Regions from separate parts of the Homo sapiens genome. Here all the other regions are linked to region 1. The links are contacts of gene promoters, found by promoter capture Hi-C in blood cells and fetal thymus (Javierre and others, 2016). All regions are on one chromosome and are shown on one strand. The core of a region is centred on a gene start or on the middle of the fragment in contact, and the rest is flanking DNA. Distances in the headings are between cores, read along the strand shown.

Region 1 (2,979 bases), core at 341-2,840:
TATATATATATATATATATATATATATGCTGCAAATGTCATTTTACTAGTCTCTAGCGTCACCTGCATATTATTCTGAAGACGAAGCTCTAAAACCAGAATATCTGTGGGGAAAAATGAATAATAAAATTGGATTTTCATGTACTCCTCACACAGCCTTATCCAAGCTTGGCTTCTGAAGGGCAGTCCCGGGCATCTATCATGTGTTGCTGAAATCCAGCGAGCCACGTTGCCCAAAAGAAGGAGGAGGAAGGAAAAAACACACACACCCAGAAAATCCAGACTCTACGTGACCTGACTTACTTATTTCCCAGGAAACTGCATGAGAGAAAAATCAATCATTCATGCTACCGTAGCTACCACACGGAAAGGGCTGACGGAGTTCACAGTGGGCAAAATCCCAAAGCGGCCGGCGGAGGTAAGTAGGTGGGGGGCGGTAGTGGGGGGACACCCGGAGGGGGTGGATTCCGAGGGCCTCGGGGCCACGCCGTCCAGGTCCCGGCGCGGCTGGCAGGGACTGGCCTCGGCCTGGCCCGAGGCAGAGAAGCGGAGGGAGGAGCGGGGGTTGGGCAGGCGGGACGGCGGCGGCGGCCGCCGCACACTTACCGGGGCTGTTGGCCTCGCGTTCGAGGACGTGCAGCTCGGCGCAGTCGGCCAGCGAGTGCTCCAGGCAGAGCTGGAGGAAGCGGGCCTGGGTCTGGCTCACGCGCTTGAGCAGCGACAGCAGCGCAACAGTCTGCTCGCACTCGTTCCAGCCCTTAAACCAGCCCGCCAGCACCCCGACCTGGTCGCGAAACATCATGGTTAGGGGGCCGCCCTCGGTCTACAGAGCCCCCTGGGCGCCCCAGCCCGCCCCGCCCGCCCCAAAGTTTGGCGGAGCCGCAGCCCCGCGGCCGGAGACGCGTTCCTGTTCCAAGGTGGCTCTGGTGCCCGGACGCTGCAGGTACTGCCTGGGCTCCTGCCTCTCTTGTCTGGTTTCAGTTACGTTCCGGTGGTTCTGGCTGATTTCCCCAGAGACGATGACAGACAGTAGCACGGAAATGTTTCTTTAAAAAAAAAAACGACTTTTTAAAAATCCCCCACAAGGCACACAACTGAATGAAGAATGCTTTCTCCCCCCTTCTTGCAGCTTTGGGATGGTGATTTCCGGCGTCCTGGGGTCTCCTCCCCGCTGGGCGGCAACTCGGACCCTTCACGCCCGCATTCCCGAGCGGCGATCACCACTGGAAGGAGAGAAAGAGCTGCAGTGAGACCTCGGCTAGCGGAGGAGCGCGCCCTGGGGGGACGAGGGCATCAGAGGGTGCTGGGGCCAGGGGAGGGGGCGTCCCGCGGAAGGTTGGGTTCGCCGAAATCCAGCCGCCCCCTCCGCCCCCTCCGCACCCGATGTGGGAGATGGGCTATTCCCCACCGGGTAACAGCGAGAAGCCTGCTTCCCAGGTGCGGGAGGAGACCCCGCGGCTTCCTGTTGCTGCCGCTGCCAACGGCTGGTGCTCCCCTCACGGCCCGCCTGGGGTGGCCTCGGGCGCCGTGCTTAAGAACGCCAGCACCAGCAACAGATCTTCCCCGCGCAGAAAACTTGCAATGCGGCTGCGAAGGGGCGCGGGGGTGGGGGTGGGAGCTAATGCAAAGCAGAGGCGGAGGCAGCGGCAGCCCGAGTTCCTTCCTCCTCCTCTTACTCCTCCTCCTCCTCCCAGAGAAGCAGCCGAGCGGCTGCAGCTCCATCTACAGCAACAGCCAGCATCTCCACCGCCAGGCGCCCCTCTGGATTTAGGCCGTGAGCAGCCGCGGCAGCAGCTCGAGACAAAAATAAACTCTCTCCACCCAAAGCTCCGCGCCCAGCGGGCGGCGGCGCAACCCAGAGCCCCGGCTCCCCCGCGCCGCGCCGCACCAGCCCACCCGGGAGGTCTCCCTGGGCCTGCTCCGGCCGGAGCGGTCACTGTGCGCGCGCGTGTGCGTGTGTGTGTGCGCGCGTGTGTGGCAGGCATCCTGCCGCCGCCGCCTACGGGCTGGTCTGTCCGGCCCGGAGCCTCGCCCGCGCGTCGCAGGCCGAGGGCGGCACAGCGCTGGGCACACGCCCCGCGAGGGGACGGCCGGGGTCCGCAGCGCTGCTCCCTTCGGCCAGCGGGGCGGCCCCGCGGGGAATGCGGATCGGCGCCGCAGGCACACGCCCCCCAACGACAGCAAAGAAAGTTCGGCTGCGGGGGTTCCCCCAGTCCCATCCCGGTTCTCGTGGCCGCCGCCGGCGGGGAGGAGAACCCAGCGACTCAGCCTTCAAGGAGCCGCTAGCTTCCAACAACACGCTGCTTCCGGCTCCCAGAACTTCTCGGGCGGAGGGGGAAGCCCCCGGGGAGGGGACCCCCAGTGACCCGCGGGTCCCCCGCCGAGGGCCGTAGGGAGGGAGCGCTCACCTCGGCGCGGCTCATCCCGGCGGCTCGGGGGCCCTTGCGCGGGTCCGGGGCCGCGGCGGCTCTCAGCGGGGTTGGGGGCGCCCGGAGCGCCGGCCGCGGGCCATGCCGTCGGGGCGGGCGGCGCGGGGAGAGTGCGGTGCTTCGAGTCGGGGCCGCTGCAGCCGCCGCTGCTGCTGCCTCCAGTGTCGGCTCGCGGAGGACTGAGCCGCCCGAGCCGGAGCTCCCCACATGCTACTGATTAACATACACCATTACATCATGGGCTTGGCAGGGAGCGCCCGAGCGGGGGGAGAGGAACCCGGGCGGCGGCGACGGCACGCGGGGGGAGCCGGGGGGAGGAACCCCGGACCCGGCGCAGGGCGGGGGGACGGATTCCTAAGTGGGGACCAGAAAAAGGGGAGGGGAGCGGAGTGGGAGGAGCTGGTGGCGCAGAGGGGTCGGGTAGAAGGAACCTCCGAGAGGAACGAAGAAGTTCGGGGAAGAGGACGGGTCCGGGTGAATTTCTTCCTGCGGCCGCCTGCGTGTTCTGGAGGGGTCGGGACACTCAAGCCACTGGAGCCCCGGCAGAAAGG
Region 2 (2,979 bases), core at 208-2,707, 460 kb before region 1:
TGAAGACTAAAGATTAGTTTTTTGAAATTGTGCTTTCGTATCTTGTCCATACATGTAAAATCTGAATGTAAAAAAAAAGTGTAGGGTTCTGAATCCGAACAAGTTGTTCCAGATAGCCTATCATTAATTCTTAAAATTTTATAAAAACTTTGTATAGGGCCGGGCGCGGTGGCTCACACCTGTAATCCCAGCACTTTGGGAGGCCTAGGTGGGTGGATCACGAGGTCAGGAGATCGAGACCATCCTGACTAACACGGTGAAACCCCATCTCTACTAAAAATACAAAAAATTAGCCGGGTGTGGTGGCAGGCGCCTCTAGTCCCAGCTACTCGGGAGGCTGAGGCAGGAGAATGGCATGAACCCAGGAGGCGGACCTTGCAGTGAGCTGAGATCGTGCCTCTGCACTCTAACCTGGGTGAGACTCCGTCTCAAAAGAAAAAAAAAAACTTTGTATACATGAGGTAGAATAATAATAAGGTGGCTTTACCAACAATTTCATGTGACACAGAAATCAAAGATGATGGTTTGAAAGATGGTGACAAATCAAAGATCTTTGACTGTAGCTGCAAAAAAGCTTTTTAAAAAGAAGGTGAAAGAATCACTTGGGAAAAGGCTGCTTTGGCTCTTGATTCAATAATTAATTTTTTACGAAGGCAGCTATGTTACATTGCCCTGGGGAGTACAGAATGACATCTTTTTTTTTTTAAGTCATATTTCTTAATGAGCAAAAAGCAAATGTTTAAAAAGCAAGTTTATATAAAAGCCTTCTCAAGAAAACAAGTACCCAGATTCTGCCACTATTTGGTCCCAGGTTCTACCACAAATTACAATGACAACAATAACAAAATGAGTGCCCATTATGTCAATTTTCATTACAAAATATTTAAATAACATTTAGTAATACTGACTAAGGCTGAGAAGGTGATTTTAATTCAAAATTTCTACAGGAAACAATTCAAATCCAATAATTAAAAGGATAAGCTTCATTTATCTGGAAATTAATTAGTATCCTCTATGATGTAGGATAACAGCATTATTGCATACGTTAATTATTCATTGAACTACTTATGTCTATGATGCTGACATACATCTAACACCACAACTAATGTAAATACTAAATTGGAATACATTTGATCCTATAAAGAATAATTCAGTATACTACATTAATAATTCACAAATATATTATTATTCTGGTAGTAATTAAGCCTGGGGACTTTCCCTACGAAATTCATGATTCCAAAGTTTACCTGCCATCATGTGCCCAAAAACTCCTTGAAAGCATTCTGATCATAGTCCTTGATATTTGAGTTGGATTCTGTAGAAACACTTAGGCTCCACAAACGGAAGTCACTGGAGAGCAGACAACAGATGAACTCCTTGGAATGTTAAGAAAAAAATCTGAAAACAGGTTTGTTTGTATGGGAAAATATCTGACCTAAAAAACAAATGTTTTCTCATTACAGAAGCAATACAGGTTCATTTTCCAGTAAATATTTTAAAGTATCTCCTTTTTTCATGCTACTGAGCCAGGGCTCATGGGACTTAATTGCAATTTTCTAAAAAAGAATCATTGATTTAGTAGCACTACACCCTCCTTTCCCTTTCTCCCCACTTTTTCCATGCTTTCCTAATTATAGTTTGCTTATGTCACTTTTCCCCACTCTGTACTCTTGTGGACACTAGTTCTGAAAGATGTTAACACATATTCTGGAGAAAAAAAGGTTCTCTTGTCAAATAAGTTTGGGAAATGCTTCTTCTCTCAAAGATTACAGTGCATATTTAGCAAACGTTCCCAGGAGATCCTTCAGTAAAGAAATCTGCATAAACCATAGCTTCCTGTCTTTACTTTGCCATAAATCCTTTTGTGGAAGAAAGTTTGGGGAAACATTAATGGGCTAATCTGTTAACATCAGTGTACATTCCCTAAGCTTATTAGCTAAAGATAAGGAGAGAGGTCTAGGAACCCATCACTGAAGGGGCTAATCTAGAGTGAAGAAAGCAGAAACTACGAGCTGGCAGTACCTGAACTTCTAAAAGCAGAAGGAAGATTAACAGAATTTAAGAAACAGAATATTTAAGATATAATACTGAACCATTTTATGGAATAAATTAGATTGAACAGATTTATTTTTTCTTCCAATCTGTAATTTGTTATGATAAAAACAATATATGCTCATTGTATAATACATGGACCATTCAGAAAAGTTTAAAAAGGAGGGGGAAAAAAGCTATAATTCCATTATTTAAAAGCAAGCAATTTTGACATTTTGGCTTATTTCCTTGAATTCTTTTTTCTTGTGAGACCAATTAAGCATAAAGAGAAAATTTTAAAGTTTTAAAGATCTGTAAAAAATTAACAACCTACACTGTTTTTCACTATACCATATTTGAAAATAAACATGGTGAAGATGAAATAGCATGAGCTGCTGAACTGTCAAATGTGGGCTACAATTCAGACTTTTCCACTCACTAGGTATGTTACCTGGTTTAAAAAAATCTAATTTAGCTTAAGTTCTCCCACTGTAAAATCTGGATAATGCCAGCTACCTCATGTTTTTACTGCCAGGAGTAAAAGGTATGAAAACAACATACACTGAACTTAATGAAAAGAAATATTAACTGCTTCCTAGTATTACTCAGAACTTTTCATGTTAGAAGAAGTACATTTCTAAAAATGAGAGGTGGGAACACTTTTTTTAAAGAACACTATTTTTTTAAGAAAAAGGGGAGGGGAAACAAAGGCTATATGTAAGGCTAGAAAATCTGCACAAAAACGTGCCTCAGAAATCTGAAGTCAAGGAGGCTCTTCCATTTCTGAAATATCACAAAGCACTTTATATTATTCCTGATGTTAAATATATTATTTTTAAAAAGTTTTAAATTCTTTAAAACAAAAAATTGTAGTTTTTTAGAAGCTTAGTAAATAGATTTAAGTAGAAACAGGCAAAGATTTTATAAGATTGTATTATATTTTCTTCA
Region 3 (2,979 bases), core at 242-2,741, 350 kb before region 1:
GTGGGGTTGTAATTTATAGGAAACAAGGACAGTAGAGAGCACCCCATTTCACAGGAAGAAGTGGCTGTAAAGAAAACATGTTGAACTTGTACACAGTATTGGTTGGCTCAAGGCAATGAGAGAGCCAAATGATGAAGCAGGAATTAATATCTAGGGGGTCTGGTTGAAGGGCGTATGGGAATTCTTTGACTATTTTTGCAAATTTTCTTTAAATCTGAAATTGTAAAATAGAATTTTTTTTTAAGCCCTGGAAAATCTAGTAGTATTTCTTCCCTTTTGCACTAGGCATTTCAGCATGTTTGAAAAGCAGCTTACAGTGAATTAGAAATGTGGGATTCATTACAAAATTTTGTTTGGAATAATATTTAGACATTTGAGGGCTAAAGGAAAATAACATGTCCTGCTCTTTGTAGAAAACCAGCTGTGTGTTGTCTGATAGAGTTTTCAAGATGTGCTGGGCGATTGAGAGGTGCAGGCCAGCCAAGCTTGCCTGGAGGCAGAGCTGACTGAGGTGGGGAAGAGAGCCGCTGTGTTGTCTGACCGTGGCTCTGCCAGAGAGGGAGGCTGGCAGTTCCTGACAAAGGCAAGCTTGGCACTGCTGAATCAAGAGATAACATTTTCCATGGATTGTACATGGCTTATATTTCTTTTCTTTTCTTTTCTTTTTTTAATATAGAGAAAGGGTTTCACCATGTTGCCCAGGCTGATCTTGAACTCCAGAGCTCAAGTGATCCACCCAAAGTGCTGGGATTATAGGCATGGGCCACTGCACCCAGTCAACTTATATTTCTTTAGGCTACCCCTACACATGGCCTCTAATTTGATAACTGGCAGTAAAAGTCCAACGCTTTCTTTTTCATTTGTTTTGACAGGAAATGATTCTTGTTTAAAACATACATTTCCTGGCCGGGCTCAGTGGCTCACACCTGTAATCCTAGCACTTTGGGAGGCCGAGGCAGGCGGATCACCTGAGGTTGGGAGTTCGAAACCAGCCTGACCAACATGGAGAAACCCTGTCTCTACTAAAAACACAAAATTAGCCAGGTGTGGTGGTGCATGCCTGTAATCCCAGCTACTCGGGAGGCTGAGGCAGGAGAATCGCTTGAACCCCGGGCGGTGGAGGTTGCAGTGAGCCAAGATCGTGCATCTGTACTCCAGCCTGGGCAACAAGAGTGAAACTTTGTCTGAAAAAAACAAAAACAACAAAAAAACATACATTTCCTATGTTCCTTTATTGATTGCTCAGCATGTGAGAGGTCCTGAGCTTAGTTCTGTTTGAACTGGGTTTCATTATTATCCCCACTTTACAGATAAAGAGGCTGAGTTAAGAGAGGTTAAATAATTTACCTAAGGTCACATGCTTCAGATTTTTATCTAAGTACAGAATAGTATCTTAAAAAATATCTTAAAAACAGAATAATTTGTTTATCTATAACGGGTACAGATTTAAGACCCTGACAAAGGTCATCTTATTGTCCTTGAGTGATAGCCAATGATGAAGACTTCTGTTGTTAATAAGAGATTTTAATAAGAAGCTCTTTTTGTAAACTATGAAAATTTTGTTGTAACATGGAAAAATTCATATAGTGCTAATAATAACAATAAAAGAAAAAAGGAGGTTACCAGTGAAATGTAAAGATGTAAAATAAGGCCAGGCATGGCGGCTTGTGCCTGTAATCCCACCGCTTTGGGAAGCTGAGGTGGGCAGATCCCTTGAGCCCAGGAGTTTGAGACAAGCCTGGGCAATATAGTGAGACCCCGTTTCTAAAAATAGTTAAAAAAAATTAGCTGGGGGTGGTGGCATGCGCCTGTGGTCCCAGCTACCCAGGAGGCTGAGGCAGGAGGATTGCTTGAGCCTGGGAGGTCAAGGCTTCAGTGAGCCATCATTGTGCCACTGCACTCCAGCCTGGGTGACTAAAAGAGACCCTGTCTCAAAAAGAAAAAAAGCCCGGGCGCGGTGACTCACACCTGTAATCCCAGCACTTTGGGAGGCCGAGGTGGGCAGATCACGAGGTCAGGAGATCGAGACCATCCTGGCTAACACAGTGAAACCCCGCCTCTACTAAAAATACAAAAATTAGCCAGGCGTGATGGCGGGCGCCTGTTGTCCCAGCTACTCAGGAGGCTGAGGCAGGAGAATGGTGTGAACCTGGGAGGCGGAGCTTGCAGTGAGCCGAGATTTTGCCACCGCACTCTAGCCTGGGCGACAGAGCGAGACTCCGTCTCTAAAAAAAAAAAAAAAAAAAAAGTAAAATAAAATATAACTGTACATAGGAAAACTGATTTTTAAAAATACAGCAAAATGATTATAACATTTTAATCCAGTTTAAAATAATTGTCTTTATTTTTCTAATTAAAAACAGTATATTATTGTTAAACATATGATAAGCTTGCTTAGCAATCACAAAAACCCACTTAATTGAATATCAAAGTGAATGTCCCGCCTGTGGAGATTCAAACAACATAAATTTTTTTAAAAATCAGTCTTGGAAGGAAAAAGGGAATTTAAAATAAATAATATTTACACTTAAAACGAAAAATTCATACACTATTTGCTAAAAGGTTTGGCAATAACTTGACTGTTGTTTTGCCTTAAAGGTGCTTGCCAGCCTGCTCTCAGTGGGAAGAAAGAAAATGTCAGGTTAGACCCTTGTGTGGGAAAATCGGATTATTTCCCAGGTCTCTCTCTTGATTATCAACAATGATTGTTGAGTAAGGACTACTCCTTTCCCATAGGATCAGAAAACCCTGGAGATAAATCTCTTCTTCTGCTCTGTTTTCAAGGCACAAAAAAACCTATCCAACAGCCTTCAAAGAGAATGTGGCAGGCTCAGCTGATGGCTCTTTGCTTAGTATTATAAAATCCCAAGAGAAAGGCAGTGTATAAACCTAACATTTTCTCATTTCCCTTAAGCAGGCATAATACTAATATTTATGGAGGTCTGCAAAGAGCCACTTGATGCAGAAGCCAGGTGACTA
Region 4 (2,979 bases), core at 300-2,799, 320 kb before region 1:
TCAAAAAGAATCTGCCCTTCAGCTTCAAGGAACAGTTTGCTGACAGCCTCCAGCTGTTAGTGCTGTCAGGCTTTGCCTCCACGGAGGCCATACTTATCCCATGCTGCGTGTCCTTTCATTTTGGTGTCATCTCTTTCTCCCCTTCTACCCCTCCTCCACCACAGTAAACAGCTTTTTGAGGGCTGGGGCTGTTTATAAGTGAAGTAGTTTATAAAAAGTAGATGCACATCTTTCAGCTTCATATTTAGCATGTTGGAAATTCTGTTCACTGATCTAATTCTGAAATCTCCTTGGTATTTCTTAAACTAGTTGTATAGGCTGGGTGCAGTGGCTCATGCCTGTAATCCCAGCACTTTGGGAGGCTGAGGTGGGCAGATCACCAGGTCAGGAGATCGAGACCATCTTGGCTAACACGCTGAAACCCTGTCTCTACTAAAAATACAAAAAAAAAAAAAAAAATTAGCCGGGCGTGGTTGTGGGCGCCTGTAGTCCCAGCTACTCGGGAGGCTGAGGCAGGTGAATGGTGTGAACCCGGGAGGCAGAGCTTGCAGTGAGCGGAGATCATGCCACTGCACTCCAGCCTGGGCGACAGAGTGAGACTCCATCTCAAAAAAAAAAAAAACTAGTATGTCAACAAAGCTTTGTGCTGCTGTAATGGGAAGAACAGCTAGCCTGGGCTAGTAATATGCTAACTGGTTTATGAACTTAGGTAGGTGAGTCACTTGACTATTCTGGGTCTGTTCTGAAGGGAGAGGCAGTAGGACTAGGAGTTAAATTGTCATGCCGAGGTCTCTGAGCATGGGTGGGCCTGTCAGAATTGTCATCGCTCACTCTGTTGACTTCCAGCAGCTGACAGGCAAGGCCCTAGGAAGCTCTTCAGCCTCCTTTCCTTGCTAGAGGTGCTGTTTTCCCTGGAAATGTTCAAGCCCTGCAAATCGTTTCTATAGTAACAGGTCTCTGTCTTTTTTCTTATGATGCAGATTTTTGAAAAGGTTTCTTATCTAAATGTTCTTGGGATCTATGGTCTTCCTACCTGTAGCTCCTTTGATTAGACAGAGCCTTTATTTAAAGACTTTTCCCCCCAAGAATGTTGTTGTTGCTTCTACCAAAATAATAACCAGTTGTTAGTTTTACTAGTGCTTGAAGTTTTAGTTTATTAATAAAGCTTCATATAAACTAGAAAAGGAGTGGTTGGGTAGAATAGTAATACCGAAAAAACTAATATTCACTGTTAGTCTCATGTATTTGTAAACTTTAATTTTTTATTATGTAAAACCTTCAAACATAAAAGTAGTCAAAATTATATAATAGACACCTATATACTTACCACCTAGATTGAAAACTAACATTCTGCCATATTGGCGTAGTTTATTCGTTTACTGATAGTAAATCAGAGACATGTATTTAGAGGTGAAATGTCACCCTAAAAAGCGTTTTTCTTAATGATTTACACCACCCTTAGTAAAATTAGCTATTCATTCCTTCATATCATCTAATACCTAATATATATTCACATTTCCTCAGGTGTCTCAAATGTCTTTTACTAATGATTTTTTCCAACAAGGATCCACTCAAGGTCCATACATTTGCATTTGATTATTACGTTTTAATCTGGAATAGCGCCTACCGCCCCCAACCCCTGCCACTGCTTTATCAGAGAGGTCAGTTGTCCTGTAAGATACTCTACCTTTATGATTTGTATGATTTTTGTTTGTTTGTTTTCATTTAACTTCTATATTTCTCATATTCCTGGTAACTGCAAGTCAGGTCTAAAGACCTCACTAAATTCCTGGAAAACATTTTTAGCAGGAATGCTCTGTACTTCATGCACTGTCACAACTGGGAGACACTAAGTATTTGGATCTTGAAGATTTAAAGACTTCTAATTGGTTTTTAAAAGCCCTGTTTCACTGGTTTTCTAGGATAAGCTTCTCTAGAGAAGTTCCTTTTTAAAAAATGTTTTATTAGTTTGAAGATTTAATGGGATTTTCCTTTCCCCTGAAATTCTTCCAGTTTGATTTCAAAAAGAAAAGGTCAACATAGCATTACATTTCTGAATTTTCCCTCAAATAAGCCAAATAAATAGTTGGTGAAACAGTATTTTGTGACTGATGCGCACCACTTTGGTTCTGGCAGTCTCTGGGCATTAGGCCACTCTTTCTGCTCTGCTCTCCTGGCTGACAGTTTATAATGGATTTTACTTTTCTTTTAAAAAATCAGATTTGCTGTCTTTTGCTGTCATCAGCTCTGGGCCTTGTCACCACATGGCAGACTTCAACCTACAATAACCCCTGATGCGTGTTTCCTGAAGGGGACCTCTCCCCTTCAGTCCACACTTCTAGTAGGTTGAGTTCAGCCCAAGATTAAGGCTCTGGTCTGGAGTCAGAAGATGGGTCAAAATCTAGCTCTCCCACCGGCTGGTTGGCTCTTCTTCAGCAGTCAGCTAGTGTTTCCAAATGACAGTATCTGTGTCCTCATCTGTAAAGTCGGGACAATAACTGGTGTTTTTTTTGTTTTGTTTTGTTTTTTGAGACAGTTTCACTCTGTCACCCAGGCTAGAGTGCAGTGGCGCGATCTCGGCTCACTGCAAGCTCCGCTTCCCGGGTTCACGCCATTCTCCTGCCTCAGCCCCCCGAGCAGCTGGGACTACAGGCACCCACCACCGCGCCCGGCTAATTTTTTGTATTTTTAGTAGAGACGGGGTTTCACTGTGTTAGCCAGGATGGTCTCAATCTCCTGACCTCGTGATCCACCGGCCTCGGCCTCCCAAAGTGCGGGGATTACAGGCATGAGCCACCGCGCCCGGCCTATAACTGGTTTTGACTAATGCGAGTTGTGGTAGGGCTTGAAAGAAATCACAAACTAAATGTAAAATTTAATTTGAAAAATGCTGTCCAAGCAGGAACTCACATCCAGGAACAAAATGAATGGAGACCAGAAATCCAGATATGTATGCCCAAGAAAAGCAGAATTTTATCC
Region 5 (2,979 bases), core at 225-2,724, 290 kb before region 1:
GGTAGGCCCCAGCCACCAATATTTTATTGCCCTTAAATATCCTTGTTGTTTCTTCGTATAAAGTTAGTGAATTTTGAGTGATGGAGGAAATACTGGGAGGTGTGTGTGTGTGTGGAGAGAGAGAGAAAGTTAAGAACAAGATGAAGGGGTCGGGTAAAGTGTTCCTACTCTTTTTTTTTTTCAAAAATAATCAAGCTAAGTTTGAATAACTTGAGGTTATAGTGACCATATCATAATTGAAATAAATGAGTCTCGGCCGGGTGCCGTCTTTCACACTTGTAATCCCAGCACTTTGGGAGGCTGAGGCGGGCGGATCACTTGAGGTCAGGAGTTTGAGACCAGCCTCACCAACATGGTGAAACCCCATCTCTACTAAAAATACAAAGATTAGCTGGGCGTGGTGGCGCACACCTGTAATCCCAGCTAATCAGGAGGCTGAGGCAGGAGAATTACTTGAACCCGGGAGGCAGAGCTTGCAGTGAGCCGAGATTGTGCCATTGCACTCCAGCCTGGGCGATGGAGTAAGACCCTATCTCAAAAAAATAAAAATAAAAGAAGAGGAATAAATGAGTCTCTGTGACCAGTTGACTGTGCTGTGGCTCTGATGTGTTCCTGTTTCTTTATGCAGGCCCTGGGATTTAACACAGTTGTGAAATGGTGGTCCTGATATTTCTCAATTCTGTGTTGGAATCTGTAAAAAAAAAACTACTCCAGCAATCTGACAACTGCCCTCTAAAGTTGTTCCTGTTACTTTGTTTTCACTTCCACTTTCTCATTCATTTCCTCTGGGGATCAATAAGAAAGTGGGTAGAAGAGACAAATTTAACTTCCCCAGTTTCTGACCTCATTCCTGCTCAGCTATTTTGCTATTAGATAGGGCTGCTTGGCACCATGAAAGAATATTATATCATAGCTGTAATTGCTTCACTGGAATAAGGCTCTTAGCACAAATCCAGAAACATTCTGGCTGCTTGCGTGTGATCCATCCCTGGTGGCAGTGCTGAAAAGTTGCTGAGAAAAAGTGTGTTGGTAGTGATTGGGAGTAATTAATCTTACTATAATTTTTATTAACGACTCCCTTCCCAGTAACTTACCCTCAACTAATGATGTATTAAACCAATTTCATGTCAACTGTGAGTAAAAGTATCTTTACTAAAATTGGTTATTCTTATGGTTTTATAATATACAGTCTAAGTAAAATCAGCATGCTTACTGTGCAAACATAGCTGTAGGCCCAGTCCCCTGGGCCTCCCTGTCAGCAAGATTGCTAACCCTATACCTTGCCCATATAGAAATTCCAGCACTGCTGATGCCTATAACAGACTGTCCATATGTGAAAGGTGTAATGGATAGTTTCATAGTGTAAAAAAGCTTGGCAGATCACATTAGGCCTTGGTCTTAATGTAACAGCCTTCTCTGAAAAACCAACTGTTGATCATGATTAACACTTTATGGGAAATGGACTCTTGAGTGATTCAGTGAGATCATACAATAAATGGCAACCTGGTGGTAGAAGGAAATAATCTTAGTTATTTCCTTTCCAAGTGAAAGGAAAAGATCTCAAATAATTAAGCTTTTATGAAACAATACAAAGGAGTTGATTATTAGCATGGGGATTTGTCCTTAGACTAATAGGATTAAAATTTAAGAATAAAATGGAACATGAAGCCAAAGAACCAAGTGTATGTTGCTTTCAAATATTTTGCAAAAAATTTGAATAAAGAGTCTATTAAATAGAAAAGAAGACTAAGATTTTATCCAACTACTTATTCCTTATAAGAAGTAAGAATATTTAGAGAATGAAGAGGAATAAAAGCTGAATGTCTTAGCAAAACTTCACTGCTCATTTTAATCTTATATATGAAGTTTGTTATATGCTTGCCTTTAAATGAATGACCTTTCAGTGCCAGTGAAGTCAAATATCAAGCAGTAAAGCCTTAAGTAACAAGAAAATGCCAGAAGTGAGTTGATCTGGCTCAACTCTAGTAGAATTCTAGAATAAACTTAGTTTGAATAGAACTTTCTTTTGTTGCTGAAAAGCCATTGAACATGTATTCATTTTCTTCCCTTAGAAATAACTGAGCCTCGGCTGGGTGAGGTGGCTCATGCCTGTAATCTCAGCACTTTGGGAGGCCGAGGTGGGCAGATCACTTGAGGTCAGGAGTTCCAGACCAGCCTGGCCAACATGGTGAAACCCCATCTCTACTAAAAATACCAAAATTAGCAGGGCATGGTAGCATGCGCCTGTAATCCCAGCTACTTCGGAGGCTGAGATGGAAGAATCGCTTGAACCTGGGAGGCGGAGGTTGCAGTGAGCCGAGATTTCACCACTGCACTCCAGTCTCGTGACAGAGCAAGACTCTGTGTCACTAAAAATAAATAAATAAATAAATAATTGAGTGAATGTACGAAATCTTGAATTTAGAGTTGTAGTATCTCAGGTAGCCATGGCTGACCTGTTGGGTGGGCACTGTGCCAGCTACTGTGGAGGCTAAAGAAGCAGGACATGGCAGCCACCCTCAAGGAGAGTGCACAGGGCAAGACTGCAAGTGCCATGGAAATGCCTGCTGTAGCTCCAAGTTCAGAGGAGCCATGATGGCTGTGGCCTGGCAGGTGAATAGACCTGGAGGTGGAGGGATGAGCAGAATTCTAAATGGGGGAGAAGTTTCTCTAGGTATAGTTAATGCATGAGCAAAGACCAGTCAGAGGGTAGGAGCAAGGCCTATTCCAGTGGATGGGAACCAGATTGACTGATGGAAGTAAGAGTAAGTGAGGTGAGTATTAGATTACAGAGGGAGCAGTATTTTTTTTTCTTTTTTGACTATAAAAGCAACATACCATTTAAATACAAATGAGTGAATAAAGTGAAAACTTTTCTTACCTATTTTCATTCCCCAGAGTTAGAACTAGAGATTTCTTTCACTATCCTTCTGGAAAATATTTATGCAAGCACAAACATAAGATCATATCTTATATTCT
Region 6 (2,979 bases), core at 326-2,825, 260 kb before region 1:
TCCTCCCACCTCAGCCTCCCAAGTAGCTGGGACCACAGGCATGCACCACTGCACCCAACTTAGGTAGATCAGATTCTGATCCACTGTCCACTTTTATCTCTTGGGCTCATGCTGATCAAAGTTCTGAGGTTAGGCAGGAGCAGTTGGTTGGTTCTGGCTGAGAATCCTTCAAAGCATTAGTTAGCATCACATCTAGGGATACATGTGGACTGGGAGTCACAGCGTTCATTACTCTCTTACTTTTAGAGACTGGAGAATGGACATTTGGGGGAATTTGTTCTTGATAAAGTGTTGTGTAAGCCAACGAAATGAGGGATGCAGAACTGCCTGCCTCACCCTTTTCTTTTTACTCTTTCCCTTAGGAGTGGAAGCAAAAATTCCAGACTCTGCCTTCTGTAAAAGCCACAGTGAGGCATTACGACTTGGAAGGAAAGTTCAGACTCACATTCCTATAATTCTGAACAGACCTTTTATTTTTAAAGCAATATCTGTGCTGCATAATCTCTTTTCTAAATATGTAATTGCTCTGATAATGTACTGAATTTGGGGAAGATCATTATTTGGAGACCTAGAACTTCTGATGGTACCAGGACAGCATTCCCCCTTCTAAAGCTTTCAGATACATGGAACAAAACAAAAAGGAGTATAAATTAGAAAGATAACCGTGGCACTTTGGGAGGCTGAGAATGCAGGATTGCTTGAGGCCAGGAGTTCCAGACCAGCCTGGGCAACGTAATGAGATTTCATCTTCACAAAAAAATTTTAAAAATTAGCTAGGTGTGGTGGCATGTGCCTGTAGTCCCAGCTATGTGGAGGCCGAGGCAGGAGGATCGCTTGACCAGGAGTGAAACCCTCTCTCAAAAAAAAAAAAAAAAAAAAAGGTCACCGTGAGCTACCACTTGCCCCTGTGGTGAGAAGTTATTTGCATAATCATAATGTAAGTACTGATTACTCAGTTAACTAAAAATTGTTGTGAGATAACCTTTATCTTGGGAGGAAGGAGAAGTATGAGTTAAATCTTCATCTGTCATAACAAAGATTAGATAACATCAAAATTCATCTATCAAGAAGGAACAATTTAAGCACAATTTTTTATCAAGTAACTACCAAAGAAATAGCAAAAAGACATAAGTGATTGTCTCTTTAAGAGAGGAGGTGGGAGGGAGAAAGACAAAGAACTCTTGCTTAGATTATAAAACTTCTGTTTGTCACTATTTGATTTTTTAAAATTAGGTGCCTGTATTTACTATGTTAAAAGTGAAAAAATATATCTATATCTACACATATGGAGCCAAGAGAATATGGGTAAGCAGGATGTCTGTAATGATTATTTGAAATATCCTTGAGTGTTACAACTAAAGTGATGTTTTGGGAGAAAAGGATACAAGTGAAGTACAGTTATGTGTTGCTTAACGACACGGATTCCTTCTGAGAAATGCATCGTTAGTCGATTTCATCATTTTGTGAACATCATAGATTTTACTTCCACAAACCTAGATGGTATAGCTCACTACCCACCTAAACTGTATAGTATGGCCTATTTTTCCTAGGCTACAAACCTGCACTGAATACTGTAGGCAGTTGTGATACACTGGTAAGTATTTGTGTATCTAAACTTACTAAAACGTAGAAAAGGTACACTAAAAATAGGGTGTGGGACCCTATGAGACCGCCATCGTATATACGGTCCATCATTGACCAAAACGTCCTTATGTGGCACATGACTATGAATGAATTCTTAGATGAAATAAAGGAATCACTGCTCTCACTAACTTTATTTGGCCTGCATTTTGCATCTTTAGTTTTCTGTTATTCACAGGTGTTTGGTACTTCAGATCAGGGGTTGGCAACCTTTTTCTGGAAAATGCGTGATGGTAAAACTTTTAGACTTTGCAGGTCACATGGTTTCTGTTATAACTACTCAACTCTGCCATTCTCGTGTGGAATCCACCATAAACCATATGTAAATGAATGTGACTGTGTTCCAATATAACTTTATTCATGGACACCAAAATTTGAATTTCATGCCATTTTTGTGGCCGTGAAATATTCTTTTTTTTTTTTTCATTCATTAACAATGTAAAAAGCATTCTTAGCTCATGGACCATACAAAAACAGATGGTGGGTAGGATTTGGCCAGCAAGCCATAATTTGCAAACCCCTGCTTCAGATCTAACACATTTGTGTGGTTCCCTCCCATGCATAGCAAAGAGCTCCAGCCATCTGGGCTGCAAAGAGGAATTTACATGGAGCAGGTAAGCATCAGTTCCCCCAGCATTTGCAACTATGGAAATTTTGTCTTAAAGGGCTTCAAGGTCTTGATGGGCTCTAAGGAGTTAAACTTCATGCTTCTCCTTTTCCTCTACCCTATTCTCATTTGTTTTTACTGTCTAAGTATAGGAACATCCCTATGAAGCTCTATTTCGGTGAGTATTACATTGTTGGAAATTTCATTACCAAGACAAAAATAATGTAGGAGGTCATAGACATAGAGATGTGGGCTCTGAGTTGGGCCCCTTGGCATCAAAAGAAGCTTCTGAAGGGTTGGACATAAAGGAGATTTCATGAATGTCAGGCCCTGTCTCCACCCACAGGTGACCAGGCCAGGTGAGTCCTGGAAGTGAGGTCCTGCCTGCCCTGAGAAGACTCCCTAGAAGACAGCACCCATAGCTTCCTTCCTTGTCACCAGTAGTTGCCATTGATGGGGAGAACGCAGATCTTCCAAGTGCCTTTGTTAAGGCTTTGTTTCCTTAGGTTTAACTGTGTTGCATGCTGGAGTATAAATATGAGTGAGACTTCCCCGTCCTCAAGTCTAGGGAGAGATATATGTAATGTAAACAAATATTTGAAGCACACTGAATAAAAGCTCTATTATAGGTTGATCCCATGTTGGAGAGGGGAGTAGTGGCGATAGAGACCGAAGAGATAGGCAGAGGACATACCACAGACATGCCCTGCCCAAGAACTGATATTGAAGTT

The links. Contacts are between HindIII fragments. The CHiCAGO score rates a contact against its expected background, and 5 or more counts as called.
Region 2: a fragment that was not itself captured here is called in contact with the fragment with the promoter of SAMD4A in region 1 in 1 of 17 cell types (total CD8 T cells); the score reaches 5.6 in total CD8 T cells.
Region 3: a fragment that was not itself captured here is called in contact with the fragment with the promoter of SAMD4A in region 1 in 1 of 17 cell types (M2 macrophages); the score reaches 5.0 in M2 macrophages.
Region 4: a fragment that was not itself captured here is called in contact with the fragment with the promoter of SAMD4A in region 1 in 16 of 17 cell types (total B cells, megakaryocytes, M1 macrophages and 13 more); the score reaches 12.9 in total B cells.
Region 5: a contact is called between a fragment that was not itself captured here and the fragment with the promoter of SAMD4A in region 1, in 5 of 17 cell types (M1 macrophages, M0 macrophages, total B cells and 2 more). The highest score is 8.2, in M1 macrophages.
Region 6: a fragment that was not itself captured here is called in contact with the fragment with the promoter of SAMD4A in region 1 in 6 of 17 cell types (megakaryocytes, M0 macrophages, M1 macrophages and 3 more); the score reaches 8.0 in megakaryocytes.

Annotation. Positions count from the first base shown.
Region 1 is chr14:54,565,739-54,568,717 of GRCh38, reverse strand. SAMD4A (sterile alpha motif domain containing 4A) reads right to left here and starts at 1,590. Exons shown (of 13, transcript NM_015589.6): 1 at 1,380-1,590; 2 at 606-1,222. The coding sequence starts at 801. RefSeq lists silencers at 559-618, 859-918, 1,759-1,948, 2,069-2,118, 2,679-2,808. The HindIII fragment of the contact is 5,259 bases long and covers 169-2,979 here.
Region 2 is chr14:55,030,260-55,033,238 of GRCh38, reverse strand. It overlaps SOCS4 (suppressor of cytokine signaling 4), which reads right to left. Exons shown (of 3, transcript NM_199421.2): 2 at 1,248-1,376. Among named protein-coding and RNA genes, the nearest start is that of SOCS4, 4.5 kb to the right of the region's middle. The HindIII fragment of the contact is 947 bases long and covers 984-1,930 here.
Region 3 is chr14:54,920,298-54,923,276 of GRCh38, reverse strand. No RefSeq gene overlaps it. Among named protein-coding and RNA genes, the nearest start is that of GCH1, 19 kb to the right of the region's middle. The HindIII fragment of the contact is 1,801 bases long and covers 591-2,391 here.
Region 4 is chr14:54,886,160-54,889,138 of GRCh38, reverse strand. All of the region lies in intron 1 of GCH1 (GTP cyclohydrolase 1), which reads left to right. It also overlaps the pseudogene FDPSP3. Among named protein-coding and RNA genes, the nearest start is that of MIR4308, 9.5 kb to the right of the region's middle. The HindIII fragment of the contact is 763 bases long and covers 1,168-1,930 here.
Region 5 is chr14:54,855,861-54,858,839 of GRCh38, reverse strand. The region is part of intron 3 of GCH1 (GTP cyclohydrolase 1); the gene reads left to right. Among named protein-coding and RNA genes, the nearest start is that of MIR4308, 21 kb to the left of the region's middle. The HindIII fragment of the contact is 202 bases long and covers 1,374-1,575 here.
Region 6 is chr14:54,827,405-54,830,383 of GRCh38, reverse strand. No RefSeq gene overlaps it. Among named protein-coding and RNA genes, the nearest start is that of MIR4308, 49 kb to the left of the region's middle. The HindIII fragment of the contact is 1,921 bases long and covers 615-2,535 here.